Regions from separate parts of the Homo sapiens genome. Here regions 1, 3 and 4 are each linked to region 2. Evidence: promoter capture Hi-C in human tissues and cell types (Jung and others, 2019). All regions are on one chromosome and are shown on one strand. The core of a region is centred on a gene start or on the middle of the fragment in contact, and the rest is flanking DNA. Distances in the headings are between cores, read along the strand shown.

Region 1 (3,500 bases), core at 747-3,246, 800 kb before region 2:
AGCGAGACTCCATCTCAAAAAAAAAAAAAAAAAAGAGGGGGGGGCAATCCTCATCCACTGAGCTAAAGGCTTCAATGGAGGGCAGGGAGCAGAGGACTGGCTGCCTCACACCAAGGCCAGGAAAAGGTGCTTGCAGGTAACACCGGGGAGGGGACAGAGCGGCCCTTTGCATGCCAAAGTGCCTCATGCCTGTAATCCCAGTGTTTTGTGAGGCCAAGGTGGGAGGATCACCTGCGGCCAGGAGCTGGAGACCAGCCTAGGCAACAGAGTAAGACGCTGTCTCTAAAAATAATTTTTTTTGACATGGGGTCCTGCTGTGTTACCAAGGCTGGAGTGCAGTGGCACAATCTCAGCTCCCTGCAAATTCTACCTCCCAGGCTCAAGCGATCCTCCCGCCTCAACCACCCGAGTAGCTGGGACTACATGTGTGTGCCACCATACCTGGCTAATTTTTGGTATTTTTGGTAGAGACAGGGTTTTGCTATGTTGGCCAGGCTGGTCTAGAACTCCTGAGCTCAAGTGATCCGCCCACCTTGGCCTCCCAAAGTGCTGAGATTATAGGCATGAACCACTGCGCCTGGCCTCTAAAAAGAATTTTAAAAAAGAGGGACCTTTCCTCAAAGACAAGATGCTGCCTGCATGGAAGGATTCCGAGAGACGGGAAGGCCACTCCAGGTGTACATGTGGGGTGGCTCTCCTTGTCCAGGAGATATGGAGGGAAGACTGGCTGCCACCTGGGGGGTGGAGGGGGCAGGGAGATGTGGGTGGAAGACACTTGGAGCCTGGGGCTGTGGAATGAGCCAGAGGGTCTGGGCAGCATGACTGGGCGTCCAGCCACAGGAGAATGGAAGAAATTGGTGAGTGGAACGGTCTGGGCACTGCTAGATCATTCTGGTTTGGGACCACAGTTCAACCCAGGGAAATGGCTGGCCGACTGGCAGGAGTGGGACGCAAGGGAGAGCCTGGTGGCCTCCAAAGGAAGGAAGGGTGAACAAGAGGGATGCCCCATCAGTAAGGGTGGGCTGGGCTCAGGTCTGAGAGTGGAGGTGAAGAGCTCAGGGCAGTGAGGGCTGAGGGTGGCTTCCTGGGAGCCGCCAGGCCTCCCATGCCCCATCGGTGAGGCCCTGCAGATGTCCCCAGAGTGGGTGGGATTGTGGAGGAAACGATGTCTGTCTGCCTGGAGCTGGGTCTTGAGACAGGTCTCCAGGTCTCGAAGGAGCAGCCCAGGAGGGGGTTCAAATCCATCCTTTATGTTCCCAATGCCAACTGTGTGTGCCAGGCCCGGTGGCCCAGGGGGAGGGACAGAGTCTGGGCCTCACACTGGATCCCAGGCAGGGGGTGGGGTGGGGCAGGATGGAGCCCTGTACTTCTGTCAGGTGGCACAGACCCTAGAGGATGCTCCGGGACTGAACCTTGTGGGGTTGCTTTTTTTTTTTTTTTTTTTTTTTTGCTTTAATGAGCAGTCCGAGAAAACAGGTCTTGTAGAATAACGCGATCCCCTCTCTAGAGATGAGCTTTTCTTCCTGGCTGGCCTACTGGACACATTTCCAGAGGGCGGTCTTGGAGTTTGACTTCCTCTAAGCATCTGGGGCACCGGCAATGGCGAGTGTCTCTCTCCAGCAGGCGCACTGGGAGGGGGCCTCCCAGGGGCGCTAGGCTGCATCCCTGTCCCTCCCCCAGGGACGCCCCGGTGTCCGGAACCGGCTGCGCCGCCGACCCTGATCCTCTGGGCGCCGCACCCCGCCAGGGATCCCGCGGGGTGGAGGTCACCAACCCCGGATGGGTAGTGACCGCGCCCGGGCAGCCTACAGTCGTCCCCTTCCCCGCCGAGCGTCCCCGGTCCAATTCCGGCCCCCCCAGCCGCAGGGACCCCGCTCCCCGCGCCAGGCCCCCGCGCCGCCACACTCACCGGAGCTGCCCTCGCCCCGCCCGGCTCGGCTCCCGCTCGGACTGCGTGGCCGCGTGGCCTGTGGCCCAGTGGCCCGGCCGGGGCGCCGAGCGCGGCCCCCTCCCTCCTTCCGCCGGTCGCGCGGGGTCCCCCGGCCCCGCCTCCACCCCGCCCCCGCGGCCGCCGCAGCCGCTGCCAAGGCAACCAGGCGCCGCCAACACGTGACCCACCCGCGGGAGAGCCGCGGCCACGTCACCCGCCGGGCCGGGAGGGGCGGGGCTGGCGGCGCCTCCTCGGAGAGTGGGGGGGTGGGGGTCCCCGCCTCACCTGGAACCACCCCGGGATCGCGCGAGGGAGAGGAGCAGGGGAGGTGGGAAGACCCCGACCCGCGCGCATCCCTCCTGCCCCAGCTCCTGTCCCCGGCCCCAGCTCTGGGAGTCAAGGCGAGGCCCCCCACCGCCCCATCGGGGGTCCGGCTACCCACAGACCACGAGCTGGGCTTTCCCTGCCCCTGGGTCCGGGCGCAAAAGGGGAGCCCCAGGCTTGGCAGGGTGAGCCTCGGGGGGTGCCCAGCATTGGACGCTGGCTGCGTAGAGGGGCGGGGAGTGGGGACAGGGCGGGCGGGTGCAGGTGGGCAGTGGAGGGGAAAGGAAGGTGGGGAGGGGAGAATCCGTCTGGCCACGCCCGAGTTTTCACAGGATTTTTTTTTTTATTTTTTTGAGACAGGGTCTGGCTCTGTCGCCCAGGCTGGACTGCAGTGGTGCGATCACGGTTCAATGCAGCCTCGAATTCCTGAGCTCGAGTGATCCTCTGCCCTCAGTCACCCAAAGTGCTGAGGCTACATGTAGGCAGGAGCCACCACACCGTGGTAGTTTTTAAAAAATTTGTTTTTGTTTGTTTTTTGAGAGGGAGTTTTGCCCTGTCACCCAGGCTGGAGTGCAGTGGTGCCATCTTGGCTCACTGCAACCCCCGACCCCGGGGTTGAAACGATTCTCCTGTCTCAGCCTCCGAGCTACAGGTGCACGCCACTAGCCTGGCTACTTTTTTGTATGTTTAGTAGAGATGGGGTTTCACCATGTTGGCCGGACTGGTCTTGAACTCCTGACCTCAGGTGATCCTGCCTGCCTCGGCCTCCCAAAGTGCTGGGATGATACATGTGAGCCACTGTGCCCAGCCAAAAAAAAAAAAAAAAATTCTTTTTTTAGAGATAGAGTCTTCCTGTATTGCCCAGACTGGTCTTAAACTCCTGGCCTCAAGCAATCCTCTCTTAGCCTCTCAAAGCACTGGGATTACAGGCATGTGCCACAATGTCCAGCTAATTTTTAAATTTTTTAAAAAAATTGAGATGGGTCTTGCTATGTTGCCTCTGCTGGTCTCGAACTCCTGGGCTCAAGTGATCCTCCCACCTCAGCCTCCCAAAGTGCTGGGCATAGAGGCATGGGCCACCTTGCTTGGCCCCTGCCCAGGGTGTTGGATGGCACCATGAAGAGCTTGCACTGAGCTAATTGGGGGTTGCCACCCAGAGTGCACTGCCACTCACAGACCCAGCGAGACCCCTGGGGTCCCAACTTCAGTGCAGCGTGCTGTCCTTCTCATGCTGTTCGCAGACAGC
Region 2 (3,526 bases), core at 949-3,448:
CTCAGTTACCTCTGGAAACCGAGAGTGCTAAGTATTCTCTGACTCAACCCCAGGCAGACCTGGAATTCCAGTTCCAGAGGACACTTACTCTCCAGGGTCCCCTGGCTGGGAGCAGAGACCTCTCAGAGTGTCTCTGACCCCAAGAACTGGCCCTGGCCCTGTGGTCAGTTGAGTCAAACAGTGTGACCCAGCCACGACAACTGACTCATTGCAGTGTCACCTGGGTGAGGGGGCTGCAGCTTGGAGAGGCTGCAAGTTCTGTCAAGGACTCCATCTACACAGGGGGAAAGGGGGACAGGGGAAGGCTCTGCCCTCCAAACCCCAGGCCGATGACCCCAAAGCCCACCTCCTTCCAATGGCACTAAGCTTCCCGATGGCAGCCTCAAGGGGTCCTGGCTGCTGGCACCATTTCTCAGATGGGGAAAACTGAGGGTCCCACTGTGGGTGCAGAACTCACGGCTCCCCCTTCTCAAGGCCACTGCACCCTCACACTTCCCGCCCCCCAGGAACAAACATCTCCCAACCATCTCACCCCGGGGTTTTCACGTCTCTACCAGATTTCTCACCGGTTCTTCCTGCCTCCGGTCCTATGAAGGAGGAGGCCAGGGGAGGAAATCCACTCAGACTAATTTGTAAGCCCGGTGTGATTCACCAGCGCCGCTTCCCCTCCTCCGGGCAGGCGGGGGGGCTCTCCGCTTGCTCAGGCCTGTCCCCGGCCTTTGGGAGCCCCTGCCACGGTCCTGGGCGTGCTCCCCGGAGGCAAGAGCCCTTGCTTGCAGAGGCCTCAGGGCAGCAGGAAGCCAGAGGCAGGAAGCAGGAGTTATAGGTCTGCTACCCACTCTGTAAGCCCAGAGCCAGGAGGCCCCAGGGCCAGGCTCACAGACCGGGCATGGAAAGCCTGCACCCTAGCCACTGTCGCGGTCACACAGGCCCCCTTCTGTAGCAGGTCCAGGCGGCTGGGACTGGAATCCAGGCTCCCGTCCCCAGAGCTGGGTTCTCCTTTCCGCCTGGCTTGTTGAACACCTGTGGAACGTGTGGTTTTTCTCCCCGGAGAGGAACGCCAGGACACCAGGAGAGCAGCCCTGTCGGGGAAACTGAGGCACACGGTTTCCTGCTGCAGAAAGCGGGCTGCACAGCATCATGGCTGGACCTGGCCCCAGCTCTGGGAGGAGCACTCAGTCACAGGAGTTTAGGGACATCAGAAATAGCTGTAGTCAGGGATGACTGGGAGGGAGCAGGAGGAGGGGAGAGTTTGGATGAGCAGAACCTTTTGGAAGCTTCCTTCTGGAAACACTAGAAAGAGGGGCTCTTGTCCTGGCCCTCCCTCTCTCTCTCTCTTTTTTTTTTTTTTTTTTTTTGTTTTAGAAATGAGACCTTGATCTGTTGTCCAGGCTGGAGTGCAGTGGTGCAATCACAGCTCATTGAAGCCTCAACCTCCTGGGCTCATGTGATCCTCCCACCTCAGCCTCCTAAGTAGCTGGGCCTGCAGGCATGTGCCACTGATACAGGAGGGGGGACAGGGAAGTGCTGAGAGGAGAAAGGCAGGGTCCCTGGCAAGGGCTCCACCCTTGGGCCTGTGCCCACGGACCTAGGTGAGGACAGGCACTCCTGTTTATATGCCCAAATGTCACATTTTCCAAGACCACCCTGGCCCACCACGCCCCCCGCCCCCCCGCCCATCCTGTGCCTATGAAAACCCTGAGACCCCAGTGGGTACACACACAGGTGGCTGGACATCAAGAGGAGCAGAGGATCGGAAGAGCACACCGACAGCACTGGCAGATGCTGGCAGGCCATCGACTGGCTGAATAACACAAATGCCCAGGGGAATTTGGCTGGGGATGGTCAGAGGAGAGTCTGGCTGCTGAGCACCTTGACTTCAGGGGAAAAATCACCTTCCCACTCCATCCCCCTTCTGGCTCCCCATCATCTGCTGAGAGCTACTTCCACCACTCAATAAAACCTCGCACTCATTCTCCAAGCCCACATGTGATTCAATTTTCACAGTACACCAAGGCAAGAACCCCAGGATACAAAAAGCCCTTTGTCCTTGCAATAAGGCAGAGGGTCTAACTGAGCTGATGAACACAAGCCACCTACAGATGGCAAAAGTAAAAGAGCATCCTGTAACACACGCCCACTGGGGCTTCAGGAGCTGTAAGCATCCACCCCTAGACACTGCCGTGGGGTCGGAGCCCCATAGCCTGCCTGTCTGCATGGTCCGCCTAGAGGTTTGAGCAGCTGGGCATGGAAGAAGCGAGCCACACCCCCATCGCATGCCCTATGAACGGGATAAGGGAACTTTTTCACTTCACCACTATGCCTGACTAATTTTTTAATTAAAAAAAATTTTTTTGTAGAAACAGAGTTTCACCATGTTGCTTAGGCTGGTCTCAAACTCCTGGCCTCAAGTGATCCTCCCTCCTCGGCCTCCCAAAGTGCTGGGATTACAGGTATGAGCCACTGTGCCTGGCCTCTGGCCCCACTTCTTATCTGCCTTGGGTGAGTGACTTAACCCATGCGTGCCTCAGTTTCCTCATCTGGAAAATGGGATATGGATTGAATGTGAGGACACGTGTTTTAAGACATGGCCTGACCTTCTGTGTTGTATATTAGCTGCTCTTCTTATTATTATTATGATATTCCCTTCCCCAAAGGCAGGGGATCAGCTGTACCCGGGGCTGAAGGCCTGAGGCCAGCTCCAGGGACAGTTAAGCTCTCCAGCCCCTGGGGACCCGTGGGCTCACTGCCTGAACCCAGCACTGCCGGCCCTGGCAGCTGTTCAGATATGGCGGGCCCCAGATGGACAGTGGCAGCCTCTGAGGCCGAGCTGGGGCTGCTGGGGCTGCACTAGACACAGGAGGGGCTTTCCAGGGCAGGTGTGGGCTCTGTTTGGCAGATCTACTAGAGAATTCTTGGGCTGGGCCAGGCCTGGTGGGGATGGATGTGTGTGTGTGAGGCCAGGGTGGAATGGAGGTCTCATTTTTCAGTTCTTCCTCATCAGAGTCACCTCCAGTTTTCTGTTTTCTTTTTTTTAAGAGACAATATCTCACTCTGTCGCCCAGGCTGGAGTGCAGTGGCACAATCATAGATCACTGCAGCCTCAAACTCCTGGACTCAAGCAATCCTCCTGCCTCAGCCTCCTGAGTAGGTGGGACTACAAGAGCACACCACCATGCTCGGCTAATTTTTTTGATATTTTGTAGAGATAGGGGTCTCACTATGTTGCCCAGGCTGGTCTTGAACTCCTGGCCTGAAGCGATCCTTCCCTCTTGGCCTCCGAAAGCTCTGGGATTACAGGCGTGAGCCACTGCGCCCACCCCATTTTTCTTTTATTTGTCCTGTTGCTTTCTCTGTTCATTGAGCATTTCAGTGCCCTGAGGGGGTCCCCTGGCCTGGGGGTGCTTAATGGACACCCTGATAATAGGCATATTGGTAGAAGGGGCCCCCGAGGGCCAGGTTGGTGCAGAAACTCTCTCCATAAGCAGACCGGGGGTTTCATACACTCCCCCCTATTCCTATGAGA
Region 3 (3,384 bases), core at 866-3,365, 700 kb before region 2:
CTAATTCATTAGCCTTTTATATGGAGGGAATTAGGGTGGTTATATTTAAAGAGAACGGTACTTTCTCACAGGAATACTGACTCTTTATTAGCTGATGAAGGCAGTGACTTTGAAGATAGCTTCAATCGCAATGTGAAGAAGAAAGCAGCAAAACGACCACCGAAAACAACACCGGTGAGTCAGCCAGTTTTCTTTTGTTTTTGAATCTTGTGGGGGAAGCAGCCCAGCTACTCGGGAGGCTGAGGCAGGAGAATGGCGTGAACCCCAGGGGCAGAGCTGGCAGTGAGCCGAGATTGCGCCACTGCACTCCAGCCTGGGTGACAGAGCGAGACTCTGCCTCAAAAAAAAAAAAAAAGAAAAAAACTTAAAAGAGGTTCAGGTGATATGGTTCAAAAAAGGACAAGATTTACAAAGTATTAAGGGACGGAAATAGGAAGAGGAGAAATTTTGAAGAGAAAAGAAGAGAAAAGGACGTTAGGATATAGAGATATAGGAAGGGGACTCAAGGACTTTTTTTTTTTAAGGGAAAAAAGTTAAACTTCATAACAGTATAAAAATCAATTATTTCAGGACTGAGTCTAACTCAGACTGTGCTGTGGAATGGGCAGCGTAAGCCTACTTGTGTGATAATGATGAGACCAAGTGTTAATGTCACTGTTACCTTTTTTTCATATTTCTGATCTTTTTATACATATTAGGTGGCAAACAACGAAAGAAAGGGTCCCGAGTGGTACATCGTCATAGCCGGAAACAGTCAGAGCCACCAGCCAATGATCTTTTCAATGCTGTGAAAGCTGCCAAAAGTGACATGCAGGTAAAGCCGTGTCTCACCTCTGTTGATACCATCTCACTTTTTGTAAGGTGGTAAGGACAAGTGTCTACAAACTTGATTTGATGTGAACATTTCAGTGAATGTAACATATCAAGAAAGATAAGATTATGGGGTGAATCCTTGGAGTAATAGAAGGGTAACCTTGAATGAGAGAGCATTTTTTTTTTTTTTGAGACAGAGTGGTGCAACTGACCTCCCAGGCTCCGGTGATACTCCCACCTCAGACTCCCAGGTGGCTGGGACTACAGGTGCATGCCATCGTGCCTGGCTAATTTTTTTGGTATTTTTTTGCAGAGAAGACAAGGTTGTGCCATGTTGCCCAGGCTGGTCTCGACCTCCTGGGCTCAAACAATCCTCCCGCCTCAGCCTCCCAAAGTGCTGGGATTATAGGTGTGAGCCACCGTGCCCGGCTGTTTTCTGTATTTTTTGCAGAGTAGGGTGTGTCTCGTTCTGTTGCCCAGGCTGTTCTTGAACTCCTGGCCTCAAGCGATCCTCCTACCTCAGTCTTCCGAAGTGCTGGCTTACAGATGTGAGCCATTGAGCTTATTCAAATAAGGGATCTTTTCACAGCGCGTCTAGTTTGTTACAGAACCCCAAAGTATCATTCATGCTCATCATTGACTGAAATTACAGTAGTTATGAGGGCTGCTATTAAAGCTTGCTATTTAAAGTGTTAATAAAGAAGCATGTATATTACCACATCACCAGTTTAAAAAATATTTTGATTACTTTTTAATTGTATTTAGTATTTTGACTGAATTTCAGGGTAATTGGTTTTCCTTGCAAGTCTATGTATTTAATTCTGTGCACTTTAAACATTATGCTAAGCAGGCTATAATAGTCTTCCCCAGACTGTCAGGGGCCTGAGGCACAAAAGAGATTAGAAATCCCTGGCTTAGGGCCTTTTAGGGGGAAGGGTGGGCACTGCAGAAAACTTTCTACCTAGCCAAATGCATGTTTTGGCCAAATACATGTTTTTTTCTTATTAAAGGATTTTGAGGCCGGGTGCGGTGGCTCATGCCTGTAACTGCAGCTTTTTGGGAGGCCGAGGTGGGTGGATCACCTGAGGTCAGGAGTTCAAGACCAGTCTGGCCAACATGGCGAAACCCAGTCTCTACTAAAAATACAAAAGTTAGCTGGGCGTGGTAGTGGGCACCTGTAGTCCCAGCTACTCGGGAGGCTGAGGCATGAGAATTGCTTGAACCCGGGAGGCAGAGGTTGCAGTGAGCCAAGATCCCACCACTACACTCCAGCCTGAGTGACAGAGCAAGACTCTGTCTCAGAAAAAAAAAAAAAAAAAAAGGCTTTTGGACCGAGGCAGGAGGATCACTTGAGGATAGGAGTTCAAGGCCAGCCTGAGAAACATAGTGAGACTCCTGGTCTCTACAATAAAATTAAAAATTAGCAGGGTGTGGTGACACCCACCTGTAGTCCCAGCTACTTGGGAGGCTGAGGTGGGAGGATCATTTGAGCCCAGGAGATTGAGGCTGCAGTGACCTGTGATTGCCCCACTGCACTCCAGCCTGGGCAACAGATCAAGATGCTCTTTAAAATAAATAAGAAATAAATATAGGATTTGGGGACAATGAATGAGATTCATTACTCAACATTCACATTAGTGTATCGCTTTGCTTTTTTTTTTTCTTTTTGAGACAGGGTCTCACTCTGTTGCCCAGGCTGGAGTGCAGTGGAGCAATCTTGGCTCACTGCAACCTCCACCTCCCCAGTTCAAGTGATTCTCCTGCCTCAGCCTCCTGAGTAGGTGGAATTACAGGTGCCGCCACCACGCTGGGCTAATTTTTGTATTTTTAGTGGAGATGGCGTTTTACCATATTGGCCAGGCTGGTCTCGAACTCCTGACCTCAAGTGATCTGCCTGCCTCGGCCTCCCAAAGTGTTGAGATTACAGGCATGAGTCACCGCGCCTGGCTGCTTTGCTGTCTCTTAATACTAGGGATGTAAGAGCCCCTCGCCATCGCAGGAAGTTTATTTCTTCTACCCCAAATGGGCTAGAACTTTTCTAAGTTAGAAGTGCCCAATAGGGTCTAAGGTGATCTCAGGGAGGACAAAAAACCCTTCCCCGGAGCAGGAAGGCAGAAGCTCGATTGATGTTGATTTTCAGTAGGAAGACAGACCATGAAAGCACGGTCACACCATGCCCCCTAAAAAAAAAAAAAGAAAAATATAACAGAAACGCCCACCAGAAGGAACTGATTTTTATTGTACTGTATTTGATTTTGTTTTGTACGCCAGTTCTATTTATTTATTTATGTATTTATTTAGAGACAAGTCTCTCTTTGTGTCCCAGGCTAGAGTGCAGTGGCATGATCTCGGCTCACTGCAACCTCCACCTCCTGGGTTCAAGCCATTCTCTTGCCTCAGCCTTCCGGGTAGCTGGGATTACAGGCACGTGCCACCACACTCGGCTAATTTTTGTATTTTCAATAGAGACGGGGTTTCGCCATGTTGGCCAGACTGGTCTTGAACTCCTGACTTCAAGTGATCCACCCGCCTTGGCCTCCCAAAGTGTTGGGATTACAGGCGTGAGCCACC
Region 4 (3,621 bases), core at 835-3,334, 510 kb before region 2:
GGCTCTGATATTGCATAATTCATTCGGCTTCTGCTCCTGAGACCGCACAGTGCCTCCAGGGATGAGCATCTGGGTTCATCGGCGGCTGCTTCCTGCATCTCTCTAGAGTTCTAACAGCCCTGCTCTACCCAAAGAAGTGGAGAGCAGGCTGGGTGTGCAGGTTCCTTTGTTCTTTAAAATCAAGTGAAATTAGGAAAATTGTGGTCTACAGAAAAGAGTGTGGCTGGTGGAAAATGGGTTGGAATTCTTCTCCACTGCATTTTTATTTTGTAAAAATTTTTATTTATTTATTTTTGAGATGGAGTCTTGCTCTACTGCCCAGGCTGGAGTGCAATGGCACGATCTCGACTCACCGCAACCTCTGCCTCCCAGGTTCAAGCAATTCTCCTCCCTCAGTCTCATGAGTAGCTGGGATTACAGGAGCCTGCCACCATGCCCAGCTAATTTTTGTATTTTTAGTAGAGGCAGGGTTTCACCATGTTGGTCAGGCTGGTCTTGAACTCCTGACCTCAGATGATCCACCCACCTCGGCCTCCCAAAGTGTTGGGATTACAGGCGTGAGCCACCGCGCCCGGCCCTCCCATTGTCTTTTAGTTGTTTGACCTTGGACAGACTTCTGAGCTGGACAGTCACCTATACAGGAGGAGCCATGAAATTCAAAGAAATTAGCATGAGGATAAAACAAGAACACAAAAAGAAAGGAAAAGATTTTGTAAACCACCAAGCTCCATGCCTGGATTCATTATGATTGTGTATCAAAGTCAGGACCTTTCTCTTCTGGTGAGCGCTCACTTCCAGTACCTGACACCATCGCGAGATCATCACAATCACCCACAAAGGGGCTTTTGGCCAAAAACTTCTAGCCTGAATCTGATCAAGCCTCTAGATTCAACCACAAATTTTCAGGAAAGCATGAGGACAGAGGAGCATGATAAACTATTTCTGGGGAGGCAATCAGTAAAATCTCAGCAGTGGGGTGGAGAATCTTTTCTGGACAAATGACCCCATTTCTAGCACAAATACATTGCAAGGAAAAGAAAAAGTGACGAAGAGGGAATCTATACAATGACCAAGACTTAAAGATACACCAGCCAACTGCAACGTGTGGATCTTACTTGAATCGAGATTCAAATTTTTTTTTTTTTTTTTTTTTTTAAGACGGAGTCTTGCTCTGTCGCCCAGGTTGGAGTGCAGTGGTGCGATCTCGGCTCACTGCAACCTCCGCCTCTCCGTTCAGGTGATTCCACTGCCTCAGCCTCCTGAGTAGCTGGGACTACAGGTGTGTGCCACCACACCCAGCTAATTTTTGTGTTTTTAGTAGAGACGAGGTTTTGCCATGTTAGCCAGGCTGTTTTCAAGCTCCTGACCTCAAGTTATCCACCCACCTCGGCCTCCCAAAGTGCTGGGATTACAGACGTGAGCCATTGCGCCCAGCCTAAATTAAAATAATTTTAGAAAATAAAACCATTATGAAGTTTGGGGGCAACTAGAAATTTCAAAACTGGCTAGATTTACCTGATCATATTAAAAAATTATTATGATTATTATTTTTACTGTTTTTTTTTTTTTTTGAGACAGGGTCTTGCTTTGTCACCCAGGCTGGAGCGTAGTGGTGTGATCATAGCTCACTGCAGCCTCAACCTCCCGGGCTCAAGCAATCCTCCCACCTCAGCCTCCTGAGTTGCTGGGACTGCAGGTGAAAAATTATTTTTGAATGTGCTAATTGCGCTGTGACTATATTAAAAAGAAAGTCCTTATTGTGAGGATATGTGTGTTAAAATGTTTAGAAAGGAAATGAAAGGATTCTGGGAGTAGCTTCAAGTCAAAACAGGAGTGGGGACAGGTGAGACGGGATGGGCCATGAACGGGAGATGCTGACACCAGGTCACGCGTACGTCGGAAATTTAACATATGAAACATAAACAAAAAACCCAATAAGACAACAAAAAAAGTGAAGAGCATCACAGTAGTCAGGTATCCCTCCATCGTCACTCATTAATTGTAAAGCGTGCACTGATGCTGACTGCTACTATTCCATTTGCAATGAAACAAGGTGATAAGCAAGACATAAAAATACTCAAGAAGAAGGAGAATCTAAAGGACGCTGCATGGCTGTGGCTGCAGCTGTGGAAAAGAATATGGATTAGAAGTGGCCGTCCTGGCTGGGCGCAGTGGCTCACGCCTGTAATCCCAGCACTTTGGGAGGCTGAGGTGGGTGGATTGCCTGAGGTCAGGAGTTCGAGACCAGCCTGGCCAACATGGTAAAGGCTCGTCTCTACTAAAAATACAAAATTGGCCGGGTGGGGTGGTGCATGCCTGTAATTCCAGCTACTCGGGAGGCTGAGACAGGAGGATGGCTTGAACCCAGGAGGTGGAGGCTACAGTGAGCTGAGATCGCACCACGGCACTCCAGTCTTGGTGAGACAGATTGAGACTCCGTCTCAAACAAAACAAAACAAAAAAACAAAAGAAGAAGTGGCCGTCCTGTGCGGTCCACCTGATGCCAGACTCTGCTAACTTTAGTCAAGACAGTTACCTTCCCGGAATCCCGTTTACCCACTTGCCAAGGGGAAAAAAATGTATACAAAGAGCACATCTCTATAAGAAGAATGTGACTTTAAAAAATAATATACCATATATATGTTTTTCTTTGACACAGAAAATGATTGGGCCAGGCGCAGTGACTCACACCTGTAATCCCAGCACTTTGGGAGGCCAAGGTGGGAGGATCGCTTGAGCCCAGGAATTCGAGACCAGCCTGGGCAACATGGTGAAGCTCCGTCTCTACAAAACATTAATACAAAAATTAGCTGGGTATGGTGGTATGCACTTGTGGTCCCAGCTACTTTGGAGACTGATGTGGGTGGATCGTTTGAGCCCAGGAGTTGGAGGCTGCAGTGAGCTATGATCGCGCCTCTGTGCTCCAGCTTGGGTGACAGAGCAAGACTCTGTCTCATAAAAAAGAAAAAGATTGTTAGCCAAGAACAGAGAATGGGAAGAAAATGAATTCTGGAAGGGAACCCCCCAAGTACCATCTGACCCAGGAAGGGAACTGTCATGGTGAGAGGCCTACACTTAGGTGATGGAGGAAACTGAGGCACAAGTTCCTGCTGTTGACATCGTGGGCCGGCAGCCTGCCATCCATTGAGCCCCCTGGCCATGGGACAGTTACAAAGACGCAGGCAACATGGCTCCTGCACTCCGGGGACTTGCCCCAACTGTGCCAGGAATCACGGGTAGACAACAACCTGGCAGGAAATGGGGACCGGTTGTTACTTCTTTACTTTCAGATTTGTTTTTATTATTATTATTATTTTTTAATAGATGGGTCTTGCTCTGTTGCCCAGGCTGGAGTGCAGTGGTTTGACCATGGCTCACTGCAGCCTTGAACTCATGGGCTCAAGAGATCCTCCTGCCTCGGCCTCCCAAGTAGCTGGGACTACAAGTGTGCATCACCTCTCCCGGCTAATTTTTAAATTTTTTGCAGAAACAAGGTCTCACTATGTTGGCCAGGCTGGTCTTGAACTCCTGTCTTCAAGTGATCCTCCTGTCTCGATCCCCTGAATACCTGGGACTACAGGTGTGCACCATTACACATGGCTAATTTATTTTTTGTAGAGA

The links. Contacts are between HindIII fragments. The study calls those that stand out against the background at their distance.
Region 1: a contact is called between the fragment with the promoter of ORAI2 here and the fragment with the promoter of MYL10 in region 2, in 2 of the 25 tissues and cell types used here (bladder and dorsolateral prefrontal cortex).
Region 3: a contact is called between a fragment that was not itself captured here and the fragment with the promoter of MYL10 in region 2, in 2 of the 25 tissues and cell types used here (lymphoblastoid cells and spleen).
Region 4: a contact is called between a fragment that was not itself captured here and the fragment with the promoter of MYL10 in region 2, in 3 of the 25 tissues and cell types used here (IMR-90 fibroblasts, lymphoblastoid cells and spleen).

The regions. Positions count from the first base shown.
Region 1 is chr7:102,432,071-102,435,570 of GRCh38, reverse strand. It overlaps ORAI2 (ORAI calcium release-activated calcium modulator 2), which reads right to left and starts at 1,996. Exons shown (of 4, transcript NM_001126340.3): 1 at 1,910-1,996. RefSeq lists silencers at 1,587-2,366, 2,397-2,536. The HindIII fragment of the contact is 14,608 bases long and covers 1-3,500 here.
Region 2 is chr7:101,627,968-101,631,493 of GRCh38, reverse strand. MYL10 (myosin light chain 10) reads left to right here and starts at 2,198. Exons shown (of 8, transcript NM_138403.5): 1 at 2,198-2,453. The coding sequence starts at 2,376. The HindIII fragment of the contact is 21,528 bases long and covers 823-3,526 here.
Region 3 is chr7:102,324,683-102,328,066 of GRCh38, reverse strand. LOC107986717 (a long non-coding RNA gene) reads left to right here. Exons shown (of 3, transcript XR_001744970.3): 2 at 92-174; 3 at 699-1,022. Among named protein-coding and RNA genes, the nearest start is that of SPDYE6, 30 kb to the left of the region's middle. The HindIII fragment of the contact is 5,177 bases long and covers 1-3,384 here.
Region 4 is chr7:102,142,621-102,146,241 of GRCh38, reverse strand. The region is part of intron 8 of CUX1 (cut like homeobox 1); the gene reads right to left. Among named protein-coding and RNA genes, the nearest start is that of SH2B2, 140 kb to the left of the region's middle. The HindIII fragment of the contact is 8,914 bases long and covers 1-3,621 here.